Linked DNA regions of Homo sapiens: regions 2, 3, 4 and 5 are each linked to region 1. The links are contacts of gene promoters, found by promoter capture Hi-C in blood cells and fetal thymus (Javierre and others, 2016). All regions are on one chromosome and are shown on one strand. Each heading gives the region's core, a stretch centred on a gene start or on the middle of the fragment in contact. The rest is flanking DNA. Distances are from core to core; before and after follow the strand shown.

Region 1 (4,298 bases), core at 1,088-3,587:
AACATGCGGTGTTTAACTTTCTGTTCCTGGCTTATTTCACTTAACATAATGTCCTCCAGGCTCATTCCTGTTGCTGAGAATGACAGAATTTCATTCTTACTTATGGATGAATGGGATTCCTTTATGTATATATACCACATTTTCTTTATCCATTCATCTGTTGTTGAATACTTGGGTTGATCCATATCTTGGCTATTGTGAACAATGTGGCAATAAACATGGTGGTAGATATCTCTTTGACATACTGATTTCCGTTCCTTTGCATAAACGCCCAGTCATGGGAATACTGGATCTTATAATAGTTCAGTTTGTAGTTTTTTTCAGGTACCTCTGTACTGTTCTCCATAGTGGCTGTACTAGAATGCATTCCCACCAACAGTGTATACGAGTTCCCTTTTCTCTGCATCCTTGCCAGCATTTGTTATTTTTTGTGTTTTTGATAATACCCAGAGTATGCTTTTGAAGTCAGGTCTTTCTGGCTCCACAGTCTGAAGGTGTAACACTACCCCAGGCTGCCTCTCCATAGCATGTTTCCTGATTTCTGGTTCAAGAAGACTTTTTCTAACAGGTGTCATTCCTAGATGGCTCTCTTAAGATCTTACTCCCTTTGGCATTTTACACCTTACTCATACAATCATTTTTAAAAAATAGCAATTTAAAAAAATACAGTTCAAGTGTTCATCATATCCAGGCATGCAAGCCTTTTCTAAATTTTTTTAAATAATAAAAAAGCCCCACAGAGGAAAGGAGGTTATTTGTGTCCTCCTGACACACACTTTTAGATTTTGGTTAAAAAGTCTCTAGTGGGTGCAAAGTGACCCCCTTTGTCACTGGAAACAAATAGGAGCATTCTTTGTGCCACTGTCCACAACCACACAGATATGTTTCCCAAGGGAGCTCATCAGGTCTTCAAACATTTAGCAAGCATGACATGTGTAAGAGACAGTATTGGAGAAGTAAGACAAGCCTTGCTCTGCCGAAGCTTACAATCCAGGAGCTCACCCCTTCAAGGAATTTACAGCCTCCAGACAGATAATAACATTAGGTCCATGAAAGCCTACAAGGCAAGAAGTTCAGGAGAGAAAGAAGTCATAACCATCTTGGAAGAATCTCAACTTGTTTTATCAGAACTCAAACGCCAATTTCTCACCCCTAGCTTCCCTCATTAGTGCTTATTAACTAGTATTGGGAGGACCAAGCGAAGAGTAAAGCTAGGGTAGCAGAGGCCATAAGCTAATTGCAAAGGACAGAGCTAAAGAAACATGCTAGTTTCCCCTGAGCACCCAACTGCATGACTGAAAATGGATTAATTTGTATTTCTAATGGATATACAAGAAACACGTGAATATGCTAAAATAAATTTAAGGTCAAGCAATGCAAAGTGTTAGTGCGTTTGCCTTCCACTCTCAGAGGCAGCCTCTATTATTTGGTTCTTGGGCTGCTTCATAAAAAGTTCTGTGTTTTTTAATGGCCTCAGCTTTTGGGAGGCTCAGGCCACCTAGCCCATCAGGAGACCAGGCCCGAAGGATGGATCTGAAGAGTGGGCAACGGAGAGTTAAACCAGGGCTGACTTCAACAGGCCCAGTCAAGTCAGGGGCAAGCACATTGTCCATCCACTGGAAGACGGAAAGGGGAGAGGAAGGCAGGCCCTCCCGACTCACAGGTCACCTCGCAACTTTGCTAGGCACTACCCACCCTTTAGGGATAAGTGAAGTATGTGGTGGGCATACAAGGCGCACAGGGGAGTCATTCTGGCAAATTCCAAGAAGGTTTTAAGGGCTCCCGAGGCAGGCAGGCCCAGTTGCTGTTTGGAGCTTCCTTTGGGGTGGGAGGATGGCGGGGGCAGGGGGCCGGGGCGGTGCCTTAACGAGGGGAGATGCTTTTAAATAGCTGCCTTCCAAAAACCATCCTCCCTGCTTCTTTGAGAAGCACCCAGCTGTTGTTTACCCTCCAGGACAGCAAATCCGGTTATTTGTCTCTCTATTCCGTGATATTATAAAGTAATGAATGGTCCATTAAACTAAGTTTGGGATCCCGTCTCCCCACAGCCACCTCCTCGCCGGCACCCTCAGCCGGGGAGGCCGTAGGCTCGGGCTGCAGCCTGGCAGCCTCAGTCCCCCTCCCTCCACCATTTCCCTCTACTCCCTCCCTCTCCTGCACCCCCTCCCCCCGGTTATTTGGGAGATTAGAGTTCATTAATTAAATCCTGTGCTTAGATCGAACTGTAACATTATTCCAATCACATTTATCTTGCAGGCGGCGGAGGAGATGGCAGCCTCGCTGGAAACGCGCGGGGGAGCCTGAGCCGGCGGCCGGGGACGCACGGCGCTGCGCGCTCCTTCGCCACGCCGCCGCGCAGCCCCTCCATCTTCCTGCTCGGCACCGGGCCCCGCGCGCCCCTGCCTACGGGGTCCCGCTGCTCTCCGGGGCTCCTGCCAGCCCCAACCCCCGGCCCCGGTGGCCTCCCCCCACCCCCGCCCGGGTCCCCCTCCTCCGCCACACGCGCGCGCGCTCACACACACACACACACACACACACACACACACACACATATATACACGCCAGCGAGCTGCTGGCCGCTCAATGGACCGATTTCCCCGGTTTCCCTGAACCCAGCCCAGCCCGGGATGAGAAACTGCAAAATGGCCCGGGTCGCCAGTGTGCTGGGGCTGGTCATGCTCAGCGTCGCCCTGCTGATTTTATCGCTCATCAGCTACGTGTCCCTGAAAAAGGAGAACATCTTCACCACTCCCAAGTACGCCAGCCCGGGGGCGCCCCGAATGTACATGTTCCACGCGGGATTCCGGTGAGTGCGGGCCTCTGTGTTAGTGCCCTCGGGAATTTGGTTGATGGGGTGTTTGGGGAAGGGAAGGCGTGGGGGAGGGGTGTTTTGGCCTCTCCGAGACTCTTTGGGCCAGATAACTGCGCGGTCCTTCCACTCCTCTCTCTAATTCTCCCTTCCCCCTCCCTGTTATTTTTTTTTTAACCCAAAGCCCCTAGAAGCCGCTGTCCAAATCGATGTGATTGCATTTCTCGTATTCTTCCTCAGCATCCCTTCCCTCATTTCAGAAATGGGGGTTGGGGGAGGCTTTCAGGAGGGTGAGGGTGGAGGGAAAGACGGTGTGTTTGTTCGGGAGGGGGCGGCGAGCAGAGATGGACAGGCGTGAGGGGAGCGCCCTCCCCGCGCCCTGTCCGCAGACTCCGCGGGCCGGGCCCGGGGCGGTGCTGGCGGTTTAATGGCGCAGGCGCCGGACTCCCCTCGCGCCCTCCTCCTTTACTCCCCCACGCCTATCAAAGGACACGCGGGTTTATTCTCAGGAAGCCCCTGGGGCGTTCTCTCTCAACCCTTTCCCCCGCAGCCACCGCCCCCCACCAGCTTTCCGGGATTTCTGCAATTCCCCCGCCCCCTGCGGGAAGCGAGCCTCGGAAGGGCCGCCCACCCTCGCCAGGTCGGAGTCACCGCTCCGCGCTGGGCCGGCCTGTGAAGGCTCCAGGCGCAGCTTGACGCCGCTCTGCGAGAGCCCCCGCCCCGCTCTGTGACCCCGGGAACTCTCCCAGCAGGGCCTCCTGACGGGCAGGTGGCAACTACAAAGTGCCACCTGTGGTCCAAGCTGGGACCGAGGCGAGGAACCCAGAGGAGCCTCGCCTGGACCGAGGAGCGGAGTAGGCCGGCGGCCCCCGGGGGTCCCCAGCCAAGTTATAGGAAGTGAAATCGGACGTGGGTTTGGGAAGGAAGAGGTTAAGGCAGGAACCACCCCCAGACTTTCCCTGGGTCTCCGGTTTCCTCTGCCCTTTCTCCAAAAACAATTCTATGGGGCTGCAAAGGCGTAGCGGGTCAGGCTGGCGGGGCGGCCGCTGTCCGCGGTGCTGATTCCCTGGTCCTCGCAGCGCCGCGGGCTCCAGCCCTGCGCCCGGCGTGCGCCCTGCTCTCCGCATGACGGCCATTTTATGGTCTCTCCGGCACCCGGAGGGATGGACAATGCAGATGGGGTTCCCTAGTTTTCTTTTTTTCTCTCGGGTGTGTGTGGGAGCAGAGGGTGGACCAAATGAGAGGGGCTCCGGGACGGAACGGAGCCCGCACGCGTACCAGCCGCCCTCGCCCCAGCCGCTGCACTTTAATGGCTACCTCGGCTTCCCCGAGCTGAGGCCAGCACGCTTGTCTGTGCTCATGCTCCTCTCCAGGTCACAATTTGCGCTGAAGTTTCTAGACCCGTCATTCGTGCCCATTACGAATTCTCTCACCCAGGAACTCCAAGAGAAACCTTCTAAGTGGAAATTTAATCGGACAGCGTTTTTAC
Region 2 (4,298 bases), core at 586-3,085, 490 kb before region 1:
GTTTGACTCTTCACTCTCTTTAGCTCAGACTTTTTATTCCTGTGTAATAGCTCCTCTTTTCCATGTTCACTGCCACTACCCTTTTAGTAGCTACTGCCTCTGTCTCAAATCTCTTAAATGCACAGTTGTCAGAATGATCTTCCTAATAATCACCATATAATTCAAAAATTTCCGTGGCTTGTCATTGCTTTTAGAATATAATCTCCTTAGCCTGGTATAGAAGACCCCTATATTCTAAAACTATTTCACATTCTTTTTTTTATTTTAAGATTTTTATCATTTATTTTTTAATGTAGAGACAAGGTCTCGCTCTGTTGCCCAGGCTGGTCTAGAACTCTTGGCCTCAAGCGATCCTCCTACCTCAATCCCCTAAGGTGCTGGGATTACAGGTGTGAGCCACCGTGCTGGCCTACTTCACATTCTAGCTTTAGTTCCCACTTACTGTTTTCAGTATCTCTATCTTGGGCCAAATTAAACTGGTTTTTCTTTCCCAGGTATAATTGGAGTTGTTCTGCTTCTAGGCTTGATTCATTAATTCAACAAATATTTATTTAGCATCAAATATTCAAATATTTATTAAGCACCTACATGCCAGGCATTGTTCTAAACCCTTGAGCAACATCTGCAAGCAAAATGACAGAAGTCGTCTCAACCCCTGCCTTCTTGCAGGGGGAAGGGGTTGAGGGGCAGTAAGTAGAATAAATTAGTGTATTTTTTATAATATATTAGAAGATGGTAGATGCTATGCCAAAAGACTAGAGAAGAGCAAAAGATGAAGAAGACGGTGGCCATGAGGGGAGGTGGTCAGGATAGGATTCAACTTCTGCTGTGGTTTATTCTTTAGGTGCACCCTTATTTCTTCTTGTCAAATCTGAATGGATTTAGGGACCTCTCTGGGGTGACACTTCTGTTGTGAGGTCCTCCCCTTTGTCTACTGAGGTCAACTTCCTCTGAATATCTATGACTTTCTTATTGTTGTTGACCTTGCTTATTGATAAGTATTGCTTTCTTCCTTGGTTTTCAGTTATTTGTTAATTTATCTTTACTTTCCTATTAAGCTCTGATATCTTTGAGGAAAGGGTTATTACACCTTAGTATACCTAATTTTTATTGTTTCTTTAGGGTAGTAGGTAAAAGCATTGGCTTTAGAGGTGGTCTGCCTGGTTTGCCTCCTGGCCCCACCACTCCCTAGCCACAAGACTGGGGCAGCTTATCAACCCGTGCCTCAGGTTCTTCTTTATCCTTGAGATTTCTTTCTAAAATTGATTGTTTTCTGCCTTATTTTCTATGTCACTCTCTTGCTTGCTCTTAGTATTATTATACTTTGGAATTTGTATGTCTATGTGTTCGCCTTCCTCCCCTGAATGTAAGGTACAAAAAGGCAGAAACCCTGTTATTAGTCCCTAGTATGCCTTCCCACCCATTTTGAATAAATGGATGTTTGTATGAGTAAAACGAAATAATTTCGAACACCTTGTGTCTTGTATAAATATATAAAATACACAAATATAAAATGAAATGTGCAGTGAACATTTGTGACCATTGAACTTAGGTCTTTTGTTAACACGTCTTAGTAATGATGAGGAAGAATATCCCTTCTTCATATGGCTTCTACTTTGTGTTATCCCGGGTAGTCCGGCTCTTCACACTTCATCTGCTTCCTTCCTGTGTTTCCCTTGGAAGTCATATAGGCATTCGCTCCTTTAATGTCTTTATCTTTATGGTTTTAGTAGCATTGATTTTTGTGGGGTATAACTAGTAAATGATTCTAAGATATTTTGAGAATATAAATGCAAGAAAAGTATTTTATAATAATGGATGAGAAAAGAGGGAAGGAGAAAGGGTTTCCATACTCTTTCATTGAATTTCAGCCCCCGAATGTGTGGTAATTCCTGGAATGATGGTAGTCAGTACTGATTCCCAAGCCCATCGCCTCTGCTGACTGGAAGCACAGAATGATGGGCCCATGCTTTCAAGAATATGTGACTGTTCTTGAGGGAACACTAAAATTAACTCGTATTCTATCTAAATTCTTATAACCATTAATACTTTATAGCCATTAATCTCCATATGATTTCCCTATGTAATCATGAGTGCATGCTTCAATACATTTACTCTTGAAAGACTGACTTGTAAAAATGTGAAAAAAGAACCATAGCTCATCCCAGCTAAAGCAAAATGGTTCAGTTTTACCATCCTTAAATTTGATCTATGTTTACATCTGTTTACAAATCTGAGCATTCCCTCCCCGCAACTGACCTAATGCTTCAGTGCCCTCTTCTAATAAAAAAATCAATATACACATCCAGCACTCATGAGTAACCCTATAATAATAAACCAGATCTCATGCAATTGAAAAAAATAATTTCAGGAAAAAACTCATTAGGATTGTGACCAACCACAGTCTTTCTTGAAAATAAGTATCATGCAGTTTAGGAATATAATAATCCTTTTAATTTGATTATGCTATTTTCTTAAGCCTTAATCTTAGTTAAAAAAATGTCTTTATTAAAATGATGTATTTGGTGTTCTTTTTCTTCACACAATTAATGATGCAGTTAATCTAAGGAATGTTAAATTAAGTTGTTTTAAAATCTGATTTAGCTCAATTTTATAATTCTTTTTCTGCCTCTTTTTTTTTCATGAACATTTACAATATAAATATTTATGAAGGAGTACATGTGTTCTAAACCATTGGTTTGTATCATATAATACATGAAAATATTACATAGTAAAAAGTGTATCTTTTAAAAAATATATCTTTGTTTTTCTAGAAATACAATTGCTCTATTTCTATGTTAACTGTTTTGCTTTCTATTTCACAAATGTTTTACATTAAAAAATCTGCTTTAAAAATATGAATTTTTAAATACTTTTGTAAAATACATCAATTACGTGAAACAGCGAAAGTACAGTTTATATTCTTTTTCTAATCCTTGATGGTTGCACTTTGATAAATAAATAGATCATCTAAGATTCAATAGGCCAATTGCAGCATATAATAGCTATTCAGAGGCAATTAAACTGCCTTTTTTCATGCCGGCGTGTGAGCCGCCCTTTCACAACCTTCAACTTGATTCGTGGTGATTCAAAATTAACTTAAAAGTCTTGTTTGCTGACAGCTTAAGGCTTAATTGACTGAAAGCCAAATAGAGTGTGTTCTGTATTCAGCACTAAGGCTATTGATAAAGCCATGTGTAAATTGTGCATGGTGAAAGACAGCGATTGGGCCTCCTGTTCTTGTATTAGTCCACAACTTAGCATTGCTGCACAGTCAGAATTGCTTTGTCAAGTCTTTTATCACACCAGGTTAACTCTCTCTGGAGTTGTTCCAGCAGCAGAGCAGTCGAGTATTGAGCTTCTACAACACTGTAGGGCCTGCTATAATTCTGTTACTTATTTGTGGTTTCATTTTTTTTTCTTTAATATAGTATTGGCCTTTCATTTCTGAACAGGATTGTTGGTAGCATATTTCAAGAACCCACTGATTTTCTGTATTTGTCACTTTAGGAGTGAACAGCATGTTAAGGTTTAGCGGTTTTGAGAAATAGTTTAAGAAAAATAAGTATCATAATATTGATCTCTGCTCCTATGAAAATTAAATCTCATGATTTTGAACACTTAATTAGGTTAAGGAATGCATGCTTAATAGCCTCGAGTGTAATGTAACTATTACATTCCAATAACAATTAGACCGTTGGACTTTTTCAGTACTTTTACACACAGAAAAATTTCAGTGATTCTTGTACCTATAGATAGGTGCATTTCTTTATATAAATTGATGTTTAAGGGGTAAATGAGATGGATTATTTATATATGTAAGTATATTCTATAAAATTTGTTATGCCTTTTTCCAAATAAGCCTAAGTATACGTAGTAGATGAAAATTTGCATATAAATATAAATTAACGAAGAAAAATTCAGAAACAAAGCTAAAATAATTTTTAGAACTACTTTACTATCGTCCACTATTATGTTGTATATCTTGGAAGTCTGCATACTTTATTTTTTAATGTGAAGATTTTGATCTGATATTGATTTAATAACTTACAAATGTAAATTCATCAAGTAATGCATTTTGAAGATATTTACATTATCAATAATGTTTATGTTGTAATTATAGCTTTTTGAATTAACGGTATATGAATAGTATTTAAAAGTTTGTGATAAACTCTCTCTTGTGTTTTTTATTTATCTTAATTTTATACAGTCAACTCTTAAATTCAACATAGCATACTCACTACATTTTAAGAAATTTTTCTTATTTATATAACATTACCTATATTAAAGAAATATTT
Region 3 (4,298 bases), core at 1,240-3,739, 470 kb before region 1:
TTTTTTATTGCTGAGTAATCTAATTTTGTATGGATATACTTAGATTTGTACAAAAGTAATCGCTATTTTTGCCACTGAAAGTAATGGCAAATACTGCGATTACTTTTGCACCAACCTAATACATTTTCTTTATTCTTCAGTTGATGGACATTTCAGTTGTTTCCAAGGCTATTTTGAATAATGCTGCTGTGAGCATCCATGTCTTTGTGTGTACATGTGTGTCATTTCTGTTTGGGAGATACGTTGGAGTGGAGTTGCTGGGCCACATGGTAACCCTATGTCTAACTTGTTGAGGAACTGCCAAGCTGTTTTCCAAAGTAGTTGTGCCATTTTTATCATGCCCAACAACAAAGCATGAGGGTTTCCATTTCTGTGCATCCTCAACAGCACTGTAATGGTCTTTTTTATTGCAGCCATTCTCATGGATGTGAAGTGGTATCTCATTGTGGTTTTGCTTTGCATTTTCCTCATGACTAATGATGTTTAGCATCTTTTCATGTGCGTGTTGACCATTCATACAACTTTGGAAAAATATCTATTCAGATTGTTCTTATTATTGAGTCATGAAAGTTTTTATATATTCTGGAAATAATTTTTATTAGATAGGTGATTTGACAATAGTTTCTCTGATTCTGTGGGTTGTCTTTATCCTTTCTTGATTCTGTCTTTTCAAGCACAAAAGTTTTTAGTATTGATGAAATCCTATGTAAAATTTTTAAAAAATTACTGGTGCTTTTGGTATCATATCTAAGAAATCATTATATAATCCAGAATTACAAACATATACACCTATGTTGCCTTCTTAGAGTTGTTTTTTGTTTTAGCTGTTATATTTAGGATTATGATCAATTTTCAGGTTTTTTTTTGGAAGGTTAGAGATAGGGGTCTGTCTAAATTCATCCTTTTGCCTGTGAGTAACCATTTGTCCTAGTGCCATTTGCTGAAAATGCTATTCTTTCCGAACGTGCAGTCCTGAATGTTTTTCTAATCATGTGTCTTTTTGTATATTGATTTGTTCTAAGTTGAGATTCTATGTTTTGGTCTTCAGGTTGCTTATCAAGTGTCCCACAAATGAAAAAAATTTCTACATCTTACGAGGAAAGACGGAAGCAAGCTACCGCTATTGTTTTACTTGGAGTAATAGGAGCTGAATTTGGTGCTGAAATTGAACCTCCTAAACTATTGACCAGACCTCGAAGCTCTAGCCAAATTCCTGAGGGATTCGGGTTGACTAGTGGTGGATCCAACTACTCGCTGGCCAGACATACTTGTAAGTTTTAAAACTTCTAATGCTGATCTGTTGCTTCTGAATACATATTATTTGTCAGCAAAATCTCATAACATTGACTATATCCTGAGTTTTAGCTCATTTAGATTGCTTGCGTGAAGTTAGAAAGCAGTACAATCTGGCACATTTCCCGTTAGTTACAGTAACCTGAACTCCTTTTTAAAAGTTAAAACATCGTCTTTTAAATGCTATTCTTAAAATAACACATTTCTGACCTTTGTATTTTTGCATTGTTCGTCAAGATTTTAGCCAGAATTTATGAAAGCTAGATTCAAGTTAAAGCTTTTAAAATAATTTCTGGAAAACTATGCAGTTTGTTCTGAATGTGGTTTGAAAAGTCAGGACTGGGGTGGAACACCAGTCTTTTCTTTTGAAAAGAAAATATATTCATTCTCCTTTCAATAAATAAATTCTCAACACATATTTGTTAAATTAATGGGCATATTAATAAATTTGTATATGTGATAATACATATAAATAATACATGGGTTTATGAAAAAGAGCATACATGATGAATTATGAATTAACCCTGTAATTTAAAAAATATTCCAGTAACAGTTTTTAAATGACTATAGACTATAACAATCAAAATTCAAAGGGCTGTGTCATTCTACTCTCTTTGGTTCTGTGCTTGGTATGTTAATAATAGGTAAGGGTGCTTTAAAATAAGCTCTTTTGGTTCTTCAGTGTCAGAATTCCTTTCAGTAAGGTCAGAGTGGCATGTGGCACCATATAGCAAAATTATTTCTAATAAATTGTGTCCTCTTAAGGAACAAATATAGTCCAACTGAATACATCACAAAATATTCTTGTAGAACAAAATGCAATAGATCCTTTTGCTTTTTTGGCCTTTAAGCAAGAGAAAAAGATGCATGTTACTTTGTTATTTATGACAGCAGTGAACTTCACTGGACCATTGCCACATACTCTTGCTGTAAAACTGAGGGCCATGTTAGTGACTTTTATTATAAAAGCCCTTCAATAGACTTAGCTGCCCCTCCTATAACTGTTTTTTGAAAGACTTCATTCAACAAATACTTATTAGTGATAATCTCTTGATCTCAGTTTGAGAATCAGAGTAATAACGTTTAAATTTAAACAATACCACCACCAACCATAATGATGCAACTATTATGAGCACTATTTTTTTTTAGCTCTTTACATGCATTACCTCACTTCATCCTCATAATAACCCTGTAAAGTGGATCCCTCTTATCTCGATTTTATGCATAAAGCTGGTGGGGCATAGAGAGGTTTAGTTAACCTGGCAAGGATCATACCTCTGGGAAAGGAGTTTTTGTTTCCATCTAGTCTGTTGTTCCAGAGTTCATGCTTTTGACCATTATGCAAACTGCTGCTATTCAGTGGCTCCCAGTTGGAAAGGGCTTAATGACTAATATGTGCTGTAACTTTACAATTTATTGATTTATTTTATTTTATTTTTTGAGACAGAGTCTCTCTCTGTCACCCAGGCTGGAGTGCAGTGGCATGATCTTGGTTCACTGCAACCTCCTGCCTCAGCCTCCCAAGTAGCCAGGATTACAGGTGTAGGCCACGATGACTGGGTAATTTTTGTATTTTTCATAGAGACGGGGTTTCCCCATGTTGGCCAGGCTGGCCTCAAACTCCTGACCAGAAAGGATCCACCCACCTCAGCCTCCCAAAGTGCTAGGATTACAGGCATGAGCCACTGCACCTGGCTATAACTTTACAATTTAAAAAACACTTTCTTTCCTGTCTTTCCCCTCATTTGATCTTCAAAATGAACTTAAGACTTCTTCAAAGTGACTCAGCCAAAAAGTAGTAAAACCTAAACTTGAACTCAAGTGTCTTGCGACCTGAGAACCGTTTCCCTTCTCCACCTGGGCACATTACTCTCCCTCTACGGCCAACAACTACATGCTTACTGGCTCCTACCTCCCCACTCGGGCTTATTTATCTTTTCTCAAGTTCTTCAAGATCCCTGCTATCCATTCCTAAAACCTTGCTTAAATCTCACCATTTCTACAAAGGGCTCTTTAATTAGTCTAGCTTATCTGTCACTTCAGACAGCCCAGGACTTAACATATGTAGAGCAGGTCCTTATTTAGAAGTTTGGCATTAGACTATTAGAGGTTAATGAAGCTTTGACATGATTTGGTGTGGTGGCTTTCAAACTTTTTTGCTCAATAACTCCCTGAGAGTGTCAAGAAATGTCTAATCCTTTGCACATTTTATGTTGACAGCTACAACTTTTTAATTGCAAAATATATTTTCACAGTATCTTGAGGAGATTGTGAATATTGATGTTTAAAAATAAAACTTATGGCTCTTTCTAATATATTCAGTAGAATATTTAACTATTTCATATCCATCATCATCAATTTTTAATAAATACCTGAACAAACTTCCCATTAAAAATCAGAAATCTTAAATCCTTTATTATTTTCTTTGAAGTGGAAATTTCTACCCTCACAGTTTTAGGGAAGGAGTTCATTAGCAAATTTAGCACCCAGAAATCAATTCCTTTAAAATACCTAGGTCTTAAACTGTTTGTGCTTCTAAAACTACCTATTCCTTGAAACTTTTAATATACTCCTGTTTGAAGAGGGTTACCTATTTTGAAGACCACTGATTAAGTCTAACATATTTTGTGTAATTTCTCAACACCATCCTTTTGTATTTGATATTTTCCTGCAAGGAGAGTGAAAATAAATGCTGTTTCATTTAGAATTTTTCCATTGCTTAGTACAAATATCTGTATATAAATGTAGGAACGGCTGGGCGCGGTGGCTCACACCTGTAATCCCAGCACTTTGGGAGGCCGAGGTGGGTGGATCGGGAGGTCAGGAGATTGAGACCACAGTGAAACCCCATCTCTACTAAAAATACAAAAAATTGGCCAGATGCGGTGGCAGGCGCCTGTAGTCCCAGCTGCTCGGGAGGCTGAGGCAGGAGAATGGCGTGAACCTGGGAGGTGGAGCTTGCAGTGAGCCGAGGTGGCGCCACTGCCCTCCAGCCTGGGCGACAG
Region 4 (4,298 bases), core at 1,123-3,622, 360 kb before region 1:
TGGATATCTTAGGTCAAAGTTAAATTTCATGTTATCATTAATTTCTTGAACATTTTACATACTGTGTGAAAACACAATTTAAATTATTAATCATAAATATCATGTCTCCTGGAAAATGTAATTCAAATAATCTGGGAATGCAGACTGGGTTTCTCCTCATTTATTATTAACAAATTTCTCTAAAAATAACATGTAACTCATTGTGTCTGTTCATCACGCCTCCTTCAGCCACCAGATTTAAGTTGATTAAGGTATCATTCATCTTAGGTACTGTTCATCCGATTTCTTTTAGTCTTATCACCTTCGTAACCCCTAATTAAGCAATAAGGCTTGACAGGGAGTATGGTTATCATGAGATAATGACACCCCAAGTGTGTTGTGAGGCATAAGGTTCAGCTGAGTGCTTCTAAACCTCTAGGGGTGTGATTATCTCATGATAAACATACCACATTGCTGCTCATTGATATCATTGCTGCCTGTGTGCAGCACTCCAGTTGAGGCAAAATTGACATTTCCTTGCCCACCTTCTCAGCCAATCCAAATTGGTGCTTCTATAAAATTGTTAGTTCAGGTCTCAGATTTATAAGCCAAAGTTTAAACCCATAAGCTTTTATTTTATTGTTTAAGTGGTATCAGTTGAACATGCAAGTACATCTTTGAAAAAAATATAAATTTATTTTTTAAAGGTAAGTTTCCTCAGAAGAAAGACCTCATGGAAGGCAAGTGTGTGTGTGTGTGTGTGTGTGTGTGTGTGTGTGTGTGTGTGTGTATAGAGTCGTCGCAATTTTGCAGCAGTTAATAGACCCTACTCCAATAAAAAAAATTGGGCATTCTTATAAATTCAGAAGAAGCATGGTTGTGCTTTAATTCAAAAAAAGTTATTAAATAGTTGGAAGTTCTATAGGGAATATTAATTGGATGTTTGGTTTAGGAAATTCTTTTTAACTTATTTGCAATTATCACAGTTAATAATAGACCAAGGGAGAGGGGGATGGAGAAAAATGTTAGTTTTGTAGCCTTGTTTTTGTTCCGGTTTCTTGTAAATTGATTATATTTCAGGGAAGAATAATTTATGTTTTTTTATATTGGCTCTGATTTGGTATTTAACAGAAAAAAATTGAATTATCTACAGTAATTTTGGTTTGACTCTTAAAGGAGAAAAAGATGCCACCTTTTAGATATAACTCTCAGGAGTATATGTGTGTATGGTTTTTTGAAAAAAAAAAAAAATGGTGAGAATACCATGGCTAATTTTATAATGTTTTCAGCATGAATTTAACTGTGTCTTCTAAAGCAACATTATTCATTAGGACTTTCTGTGATGATAAAAATATTCTGTGTCTGTACTCTCCAGTGTGATAGCCATTAGCCATATGTGGCTAATAAGACTGAGGAGTTGAGTTCTTTGTTTTACTTAGATGTCATATTCTAAAGAAAATCCTTGAAAGTTAATTTTTCTCAAGCTCCTCACAAAATTTCCAATAAATGAATTATCTTATGGCTTTAAAAAATGATATTTTTTCCAAGTAATTAGTTTCTTTGATGGTCTTTTTTATCTTTTGATGTTCAAATAAGAACTGGAAGAGTCTGTTCATTTTATAGAGATTTAAAATTCTTCTTAGTACAACTTCTACTCTAATTTGTATGCAATTTTCAGAAGGTCTTGTCAAGTAGTTAGGCATTTAATGCATGCTGAAACTATTAATCTACTTATGAAATTAAAATAATAACTTCCCTGGCGAAGTGAAAGACTTTTTTAGGAAGAATTTCTATCAACCAAAAATGCCAGGACTTTTGGTGCTTATTTTTTAAATAACTTATGATACTTGATTATACCTGTAATTTTATTTGTCTCAATAGAGTATTTTTTTCTTAATAAGAATTATAAGTTTCCAAGCTTACCTTTATTCCCGTAGGTACAGTTCCTACATTGAAAATGTCCAGAATATTATTTAAACCTTGACTGCTCTCTCGATGGCACCCAGCCTTCATCACTTACATGGCTGAGTTTGTTCATTCTTAAAACAGTCTTTGGATTTTAAACTAAAATATTTATCAAACCCAAGTCTATAGTAAGTGTCCACTAAATGAGCAAACAGGACCATGTAAAACTAATGTCTTTCTTTAAGTGGAAAGTTAACACTTCTTAAAGCATAAGCTGACTCCTTACTATTCCTATTTTTTAATTAATTTTGGTTTTTAAAAAGATTAGGCCATCCTAAGCAGAAAACTATAAACAAAATTGCTGGTATATAAAAGCATAGAATTTGGAATTAAATCCAGGAAACCAAAGGGCACAGAGCTGAAGACCCAAGAATTCTCCTTTCATTGCGTGAACTGCATTGCCATTCATGGCAGGTAAAACTGTCTGAAACAAAGACCTGAAGTCCTTAGGTGAGTGGCAGTAGAAGCTGCTGCCAGTGTTGCCTAGCAGGAAAGGAACTTGGAGCAATCAGGGAATCAGAGGTGCTGTGGACCAAAAGCCCATATGGGAATCCTTGTGCTTCTCCAGAGCCTAGTGAGAGCCACCTCACTCCACCTTTACGTTTCATTTTAAACTTCTTTTTCACAATAGTAGGAAGTTACATTAAAAACAAACATCCTATAGATGAGAACATATGATTTCTAAGGTTTTCTTTCAAACAATATGAGAGGGGGAAAAAGAAGATGAACCTGGATGAAGCAAAATTATGCTAAAGCTGGGCAAAGGGTACACAGAGGTTCATTATAGGTACTATTCTGTCTGCTGTTGTACACTTGGAAAAGTTTCCATCATGATTTTAAAATGCAAATATTATAAAGGCTGAGTTGATGTAAATGTTTATATTACTAATAATACTTAGGAGGTAAGCTTTACTTATATATACCATAGTTATTCTGTCTTACCCTCCTACCTATTGCTCCAGCTTTTTCTCACCAGGCTCTCCCCTGCAGCCTCTGTGCTCAGGCTACACCAGCTGACTTTTTGTTGTTGTTATTTCAATCTCAGCTTTTCTCTCTCACCCCAGGACCTTTGCATATGCCATTTCCCCATTCCGGGTTCTCTTCTTTCCTCACTTATTCCTAAACCCAACAACTACTTACTACCTCACTAGTACACCAAATTGTATTGTTAGGTACTAGACTGATTCTCATTCCATTCAGTTCCCATTCAGGTTGGGTTGCTCACTGCCTGTTCTCCTGTGATGAAAGTCAGGGCATGTGCCTTTCTCAGCTTTGGACACAACTTATGAAGATAGCACCACCTCTTACTAGCTACCGTACACCTTCTCCTCATTTTTTTTTTTTTTTTTTTTTGAGACGGAGTCTCGCTCTGTCGCCCAGGCTGGAGTGAAGTGGCACGATCGCGGCTCACCGCAAGCTCCGCCTCCTGGGTTCATGCCATTCTCCTGCCTCAGCCTCCCGAGTAGCTGGGACTACAGGCGTCCGTCACCACTCCCGGCTGATTTTTTGTATTTTTGGTAGAGACGGGTTTCACCGTGTTAGCCAGGATGGTCTCGATCTTCTGACCTCGTGATCCGCCTGCCTTGGCCTCCCAAAGTGCTAGGATTACAGGCATGAGCCACCATGCCCGGCCTCATTTTTTAAATATTGGAGAAACTGGCCAAATGAGAGTTGGAGTAATCCTGAAGGAGGCAAGGGACCATGAGACTAGAGATTGCCTAACCCTGTTGGGGGGAAAAAAGAACTCTAAAAATTTTAGACATTATGTGGACCAAACAAAACAGGTTTATGGACAACACTGAGCCTGTGGGCAGTCCATAGCTATGGATTTGGAAGTGTGAGTGATTATAGAGTAAGAAAGAAAAAGGAATCTGTCTTTGTTGAACTCTCCATAACTGATACCTTTATTTGAAATGTGGCTTATTGGCAACAGCCCAAGATATTATTTAAATTGTGAATACTAATACCCTGCTTTAAAATGTGATCCCAGCGATCTCTAAGAACAAACTGTTAATGGAGAGAGATGATCTGTATCTGTCAGTTCAGTTTCCCATTATGAGTTCATGTGTAATTTAATAAAATGTTCAGACTATTCATGGCTTTCAAAATATATTATTTTTGTTACAAATGTATTTTGCCTGATTTTTAATATTCTCCATTTCTTCTTCTAATTAATCATATTAATCAATTAAAATAGAAAACGAGTCCTGCTCAGTGTAAAATAACCTCAAGCCCATGCTGTTTAATTTTATAAAGTACTCATAATGAAAAAGAATAATTTAGCTAATCAAATAACAACTTCCTTTTTCCTTACCTATCTTAAGACAACTGATCTTCTGTAATCACTCCTTCAG
Region 5 (4,298 bases), core at 847-3,346, 320 kb before region 1:
CAGGAACCGAACTTTAACAGAAAGAGTTAACAATAACCATACATTTGGTTTTAAAATGTGACCTCGTACACTAGTGATTTTTTTTCACCTCTGTGTTGTGTTCAGCGCTATTATTAATGCAGGAAAATCAGTAACATTAGTCATCTTAAAAGGGTTATTACTCAAGATGATTTAAATTGTGAAAATGTCAGTGGAGCCTGCACACACTCTGCTAGAGATGCCATGATTTACGCCCTCTGACACCATCCTGCTGCTGAGAAGGGCTAGAAAAAGGAATGGCTTGTGTTTTGCACTGATCCACATGCAGGGGATGATGTCAGTGATAACGCATCTTAAATGTCCTAGGATTTGCCAGAGTTTCATGGATCAACCATTTGTAGATGTTGGATCATAATCTGCATGCTTCATGCAAATCTCTAGAATCTTACATCGAGATGGAGGTTATACTGGAGAGAAGCATTGGAAATGAAAATTAGTACAAAGAAAAAGTGTTATTTCCAAGGCTTCTTTCCAGATTTTCAGTATTCTTTCCATGTGATATTATAATAGCACACATAATGCTATTGAAGATATTTTAAGTAATATTTAGAATCTAAAGAAATCTTCAGACTCAGTTGCTTAGGAAACAGTTCACTTAGACAGCTACCATTCAGTATTTAGTACTTCAACCTGAATGCATAGTTGTTCATGATTCATAATTTCCATGTTGTTTTTCATTTATGTGGCTGGATTAAGAAAACCTAAAATTTAAATCCAGAAAAACTGCCAAAAAGCAGAAGTTATCAATTGATAAAAAGGTATTGTCAATAAAATATTAACAGCAGACTCTCCTTAGTATGATAGCAAAACAGTGAGGCACAGACATAGTGTTGAGATGAAATTGATTCTGGTTCTGCACTTTATAATAAGCAAGAGCTTTCCAGAAAGCGAGTTTTTAAAAAGCAAGTGAAGAGTGAAGGTATTAGTAGGTGGGAAATGGGGGTGGAAGGGAGTCTTGAGCTTTATTTGATCCAATTGTCACTCTATCTACTGCTTAACTTTGCTTCCTTTTCTTGAACTAATTACAAATCCCAAAACTTGTCTTCGCTGACTCATCCTTCAGGGAGTGAGTGCAGTTAGCATTGTGGTAAAGAACATGAAAGTCTTCAGTTTTAAATATCCACAATTTCCAAATATCTGTGTTGTCTAAATGAACCATTTTATTAAGAGGTATAATTTAGCCCTCTTCCTAAAGATCCATGGACTCTCCTTTTGTCAGGTTCTACCCCTATAAAATTCCTCTAGATTTCTGCATTTACCATAACAGCATCGGAACAATTCCAAGCACACTGAAAGGAACTTTTGAGAGGTTAAGAACAAGCTTAGGTGAAGGAGAATAACCATGATGGAGGGGAAAGTAGCCAGGAGAGATCGACCCAGTCTCTGTGATAGGGAAAGGGAGAGGGCTGTTCAAGTGACACATGTGCTCTCCTGTCCCTCCAGATGAACACGTCACTGCTGGGAAGCATCGGCATGCTGAACTCGGCACCTCAGCTGCGCTGCATTAAAACCTACCAGGTGCCCCCTGTGCAGCCCGCGTCCCCCGGCTCCCACAATGCCCTCAAGCTGGCCCGGCTCATCTGGACTTCCAACCGCAACGTCATCCTCATGGCCCATGACGGGAAGGAGCACCGCTTCATGGTCTAATGCTGCTGCCTGCCGCCGTGACTGCGTTTTAGTTCTCTAAATTATCCAAGCCGATGTTGCTCTGTCCTTCCTCACACCAGATTGTTCCCAGGGGCCTGCCCACCCCAGTGCCATCCAGTGGCACGGCCGGGTCTTGTCACTTGTGCATGCTTCTCAGGGGCAGAACCCGCTCGTGCCATCTGTCGATTCAGAGGCACGCACACATGCTCTGCAGGATGTGGCCATCCTGTCACCAGGTAGTTTTTCCCTGCCAGAGATGGCAGGGGAAAGCCAGTGGTTCCTGGGAACGCTCTTGTTGCTTGGTGCAACAGAAGCACAAAAATCAATAAACACTGTGATTGCACTCCCAGCCCAGATCAGCATTTTTAGCCATCTCAACCGCACCTCTGAAGTGCTGCTTGAATCTGGCCGTTCTGACACTGGGTGTTGAGGTCATGTGGCAGTCCTCACGATTGAAATTATTGCCCTTTGAATTACCTAAAATATTGTTTACCAAAAAGATTCTGTGTTTACATGTTCTTTTCTTCTGGTGATTGCTAGGAAATTACTCAATCCAATTTCCTAGGGTTTAGCTACCACCTTCTTTATCAACAGCTAACCAATTTGAGATTCATGATTAATTATGTACACAAAAATATTTTCCTTGTAGAAAATAGTTTTCCAGACACTTAGCCTTCTGAAGTGCTCATCTCTTGCTTAAATGATAGTCTATTTAGTAGTTTAAAATAAAAATAATCACTCCCTATGATCTAGTTAATGTAATTATCCAGTCACTGTAACTAATCTCTTGAAGGGACTTTTGTGATAAAGAGCCAAGTTCAGAAGCATAGCGTGTACCGAAAATGAAGACTCTCCTATCTACTGCTACAGATCCTGTTGAAGAAAGAGCTTACCCCTTTCCCCCGGAAAACTTGCAATCCTGTAGTTCCCATATGTGTGGCATATGTCAGTTATGAAATTATTATAATTCAGCCTTCAAACTACTACTGATCAACTAAAGGAAAGCTAATAAGGTATTTCTTTTAAACAAGTATTCTGGAAAAGTAATAACTATGGCACAAATGTTCAGGAGTGTATATAAAAATATGTGGGCTCTCGATTTATTTGAGCAAACATTGCAATGAGGGTGTTCATTATGCTTCTAAGTAAGCTTTAACTAGACCACTTTCTTCTTATGTCAGATTGTGCTGGTTCTAGCTCATAATAATGAAAAAAATAGAATTATATTTTGTATGAATTGTTTCTAACAAACCTTGATCTGTATATACTTGTGAGGGGTTGTTTGGTTGCCTAATTGTTGATTGGTTGGTTAGTTGGGCAAAATCATTTATTACATGCAAAAATAGAAAATTATTTGTTAAATTCAGAGAAAATATGTGAAGTTTACAAAGGAACCAAAATGATAATGGGAGAATTTAGTCTTAAAAGTTTAGGTTGTCAGAGTTTATCTGATATACAAAAAAGTAGGATCAAAGTCTAGGAACAAACATTGGTTATTTCACTGAAACAGATTTTTAAAGAGCATATTAAGAAATTAAGACCATTAGATCATCTCTTTCATAATGATATGATGTTATTTCCATTGACGGCAAATCTATACTGTTCCTTGGTTTTAGAGTTGGGTATTCTTTCAAAAGTGAATTTAGGCACATGCATGTACATTGTATTTATAAAGATTATATATGTAGTTTCCAAGGAAGAAACAAAGACCTATACAGTTTAGACTTTATTTGTTTGGTGAACGTGCTGTTGTGTTTGGCATAGCTAGAGAAATGTAAGGTAAAAGGCTCACTTTGTTTTCCAGTGGGTCCAGAGTCTTCTCTATACCCAACATATGTTTACTTTATGAACTTAAATGGAAATTAATTTATTGTAGACTACATCTCTATTTGGAATGATGAGGTAAATGTATACCTTAGCATTTTCTTTAACAAAAATGTTCTGTGTGTCAGGAAAGAGGTGTGAGAGTGGTAGGCAGCCTGCCGCAAACACACGGATGGCTCCCCCCGCCACGAAGGTTGAGAACAAAGCCAGGGGGCCCAGAGGAGCAATAGCCCTGGGCCACAAGCGTGGGTAGGCCTTTCACGTATTCCGTCTGCACAGGCAACCAAGGCCAGTAGAAAGCTATGGCTGCAAAACCCTGGGGTGGACGATGTTTGATGATTAGACGGTCATCTCTAACTACTAAACTAATATCTGCATTCTTGTTAACATAAATCTCTCCTTGGCTATTTTAATAGCCACAGTCCCAAACTTCATCCCAGCTTAGATTTCTCAGCACTGAGGTAAACTCTGCATTGTCATCCCAGCGTACACCTTTAATGTTTTATTGATTTCACTGGCACTGTATTTGGACCTGTCCTTGTATATGTAGAGACATATGTGGCTTCATTGGTAATTTACAAGCAAAAGATGACATGACGTGACACCTGTATGAAAATGTGATGATTGAACTCCCTGTGTACAGCGAGTGAATTAAAATGTCTGCCTCTCCAGACATTTCTTAATGATTCCACTTAATAGACTCTATGTGTGCTGAATGTTCCTGTGTACATATGTGTGTTAAATAAAACAATTGTATTGAAGACTGTTTTTCTCACAATATTACCTTT

What was found. The method cuts DNA at HindIII sites, captures the fragments that hold promoters and counts their contacts. A CHiCAGO score of 5 or more calls a contact.
Region 2: a contact is called between a fragment that was not itself captured here and the fragment with the promoter of ST8SIA3 in region 1, in 1 of 17 cell types (endothelial precursors). The highest score is 5.5, in endothelial precursors.
Region 3: a contact is called between a fragment that was not itself captured here and the fragment with the promoter of ST8SIA3 in region 1, in 1 of 17 cell types (M1 macrophages). The highest score is 6.3, in M1 macrophages.
Region 4: a fragment that was not itself captured here is called in contact with the fragment with the promoter of ST8SIA3 in region 1 in 2 of 17 cell types (endothelial precursors and M1 macrophages); the score reaches 5.3 in endothelial precursors.
Region 5: a fragment that was not itself captured here is called in contact with the fragment with the promoter of ST8SIA3 in region 1 in 1 of 17 cell types (M1 macrophages); the score reaches 5.9 in M1 macrophages.

What each region holds. Positions count from the first base shown.
Region 1 is chr18:57,350,220-57,354,517 of GRCh38, forward strand. It overlaps ST8SIA3 (ST8 alpha-N-acetyl-neuraminide alpha-2,8-sialyltransferase 3), which reads left to right and starts at 2,338. Exons shown (of 4, transcript NM_015879.3): 1 at 2,338-2,806; 2 at 4,183-4,298. The coding sequence starts at 2,628. The HindIII fragment of the contact is 6,120 bases long and covers 981-4,298 here.
Region 2 is chr18:56,858,207-56,862,504 of GRCh38, forward strand. All of the region lies in intron 20 of WDR7 (WD repeat domain 7), which reads left to right. Among named protein-coding and RNA genes, the nearest start is that of WDR7-OT1, 180 kb to the right of the region's middle. The HindIII fragment of the contact is 4,950 bases long and covers 1-4,298 here.
Region 3 is chr18:56,878,896-56,883,193 of GRCh38, forward strand. It overlaps WDR7 (WD repeat domain 7), which reads left to right. Exons shown (of 28, transcript NM_015285.3): 21 at 1,049-1,270. Among named protein-coding and RNA genes, the nearest start is that of WDR7-OT1, 160 kb to the right of the region's middle. The HindIII fragment of the contact is 1,842 bases long and covers 1,569-3,410 here.
Region 4 is chr18:56,987,868-56,992,165 of GRCh38, forward strand. All of the region lies in intron 26 of WDR7 (WD repeat domain 7), which reads left to right. Among named protein-coding and RNA genes, the nearest start is that of WDR7-OT1, 50 kb to the right of the region's middle. The HindIII fragment of the contact is 954 bases long and covers 1,896-2,849 here.
Region 5 is chr18:57,025,522-57,029,819 of GRCh38, forward strand. It overlaps WDR7 (WD repeat domain 7), which reads left to right. Exons shown (of 28, transcript NM_015285.3): 28 at 1,483-4,271. The coding sequence ends at 1,686. Among named protein-coding and RNA genes, the nearest start is that of WDR7-OT1, 12 kb to the right of the region's middle. The HindIII fragment of the contact is 1,476 bases long and covers 1,359-2,834 here.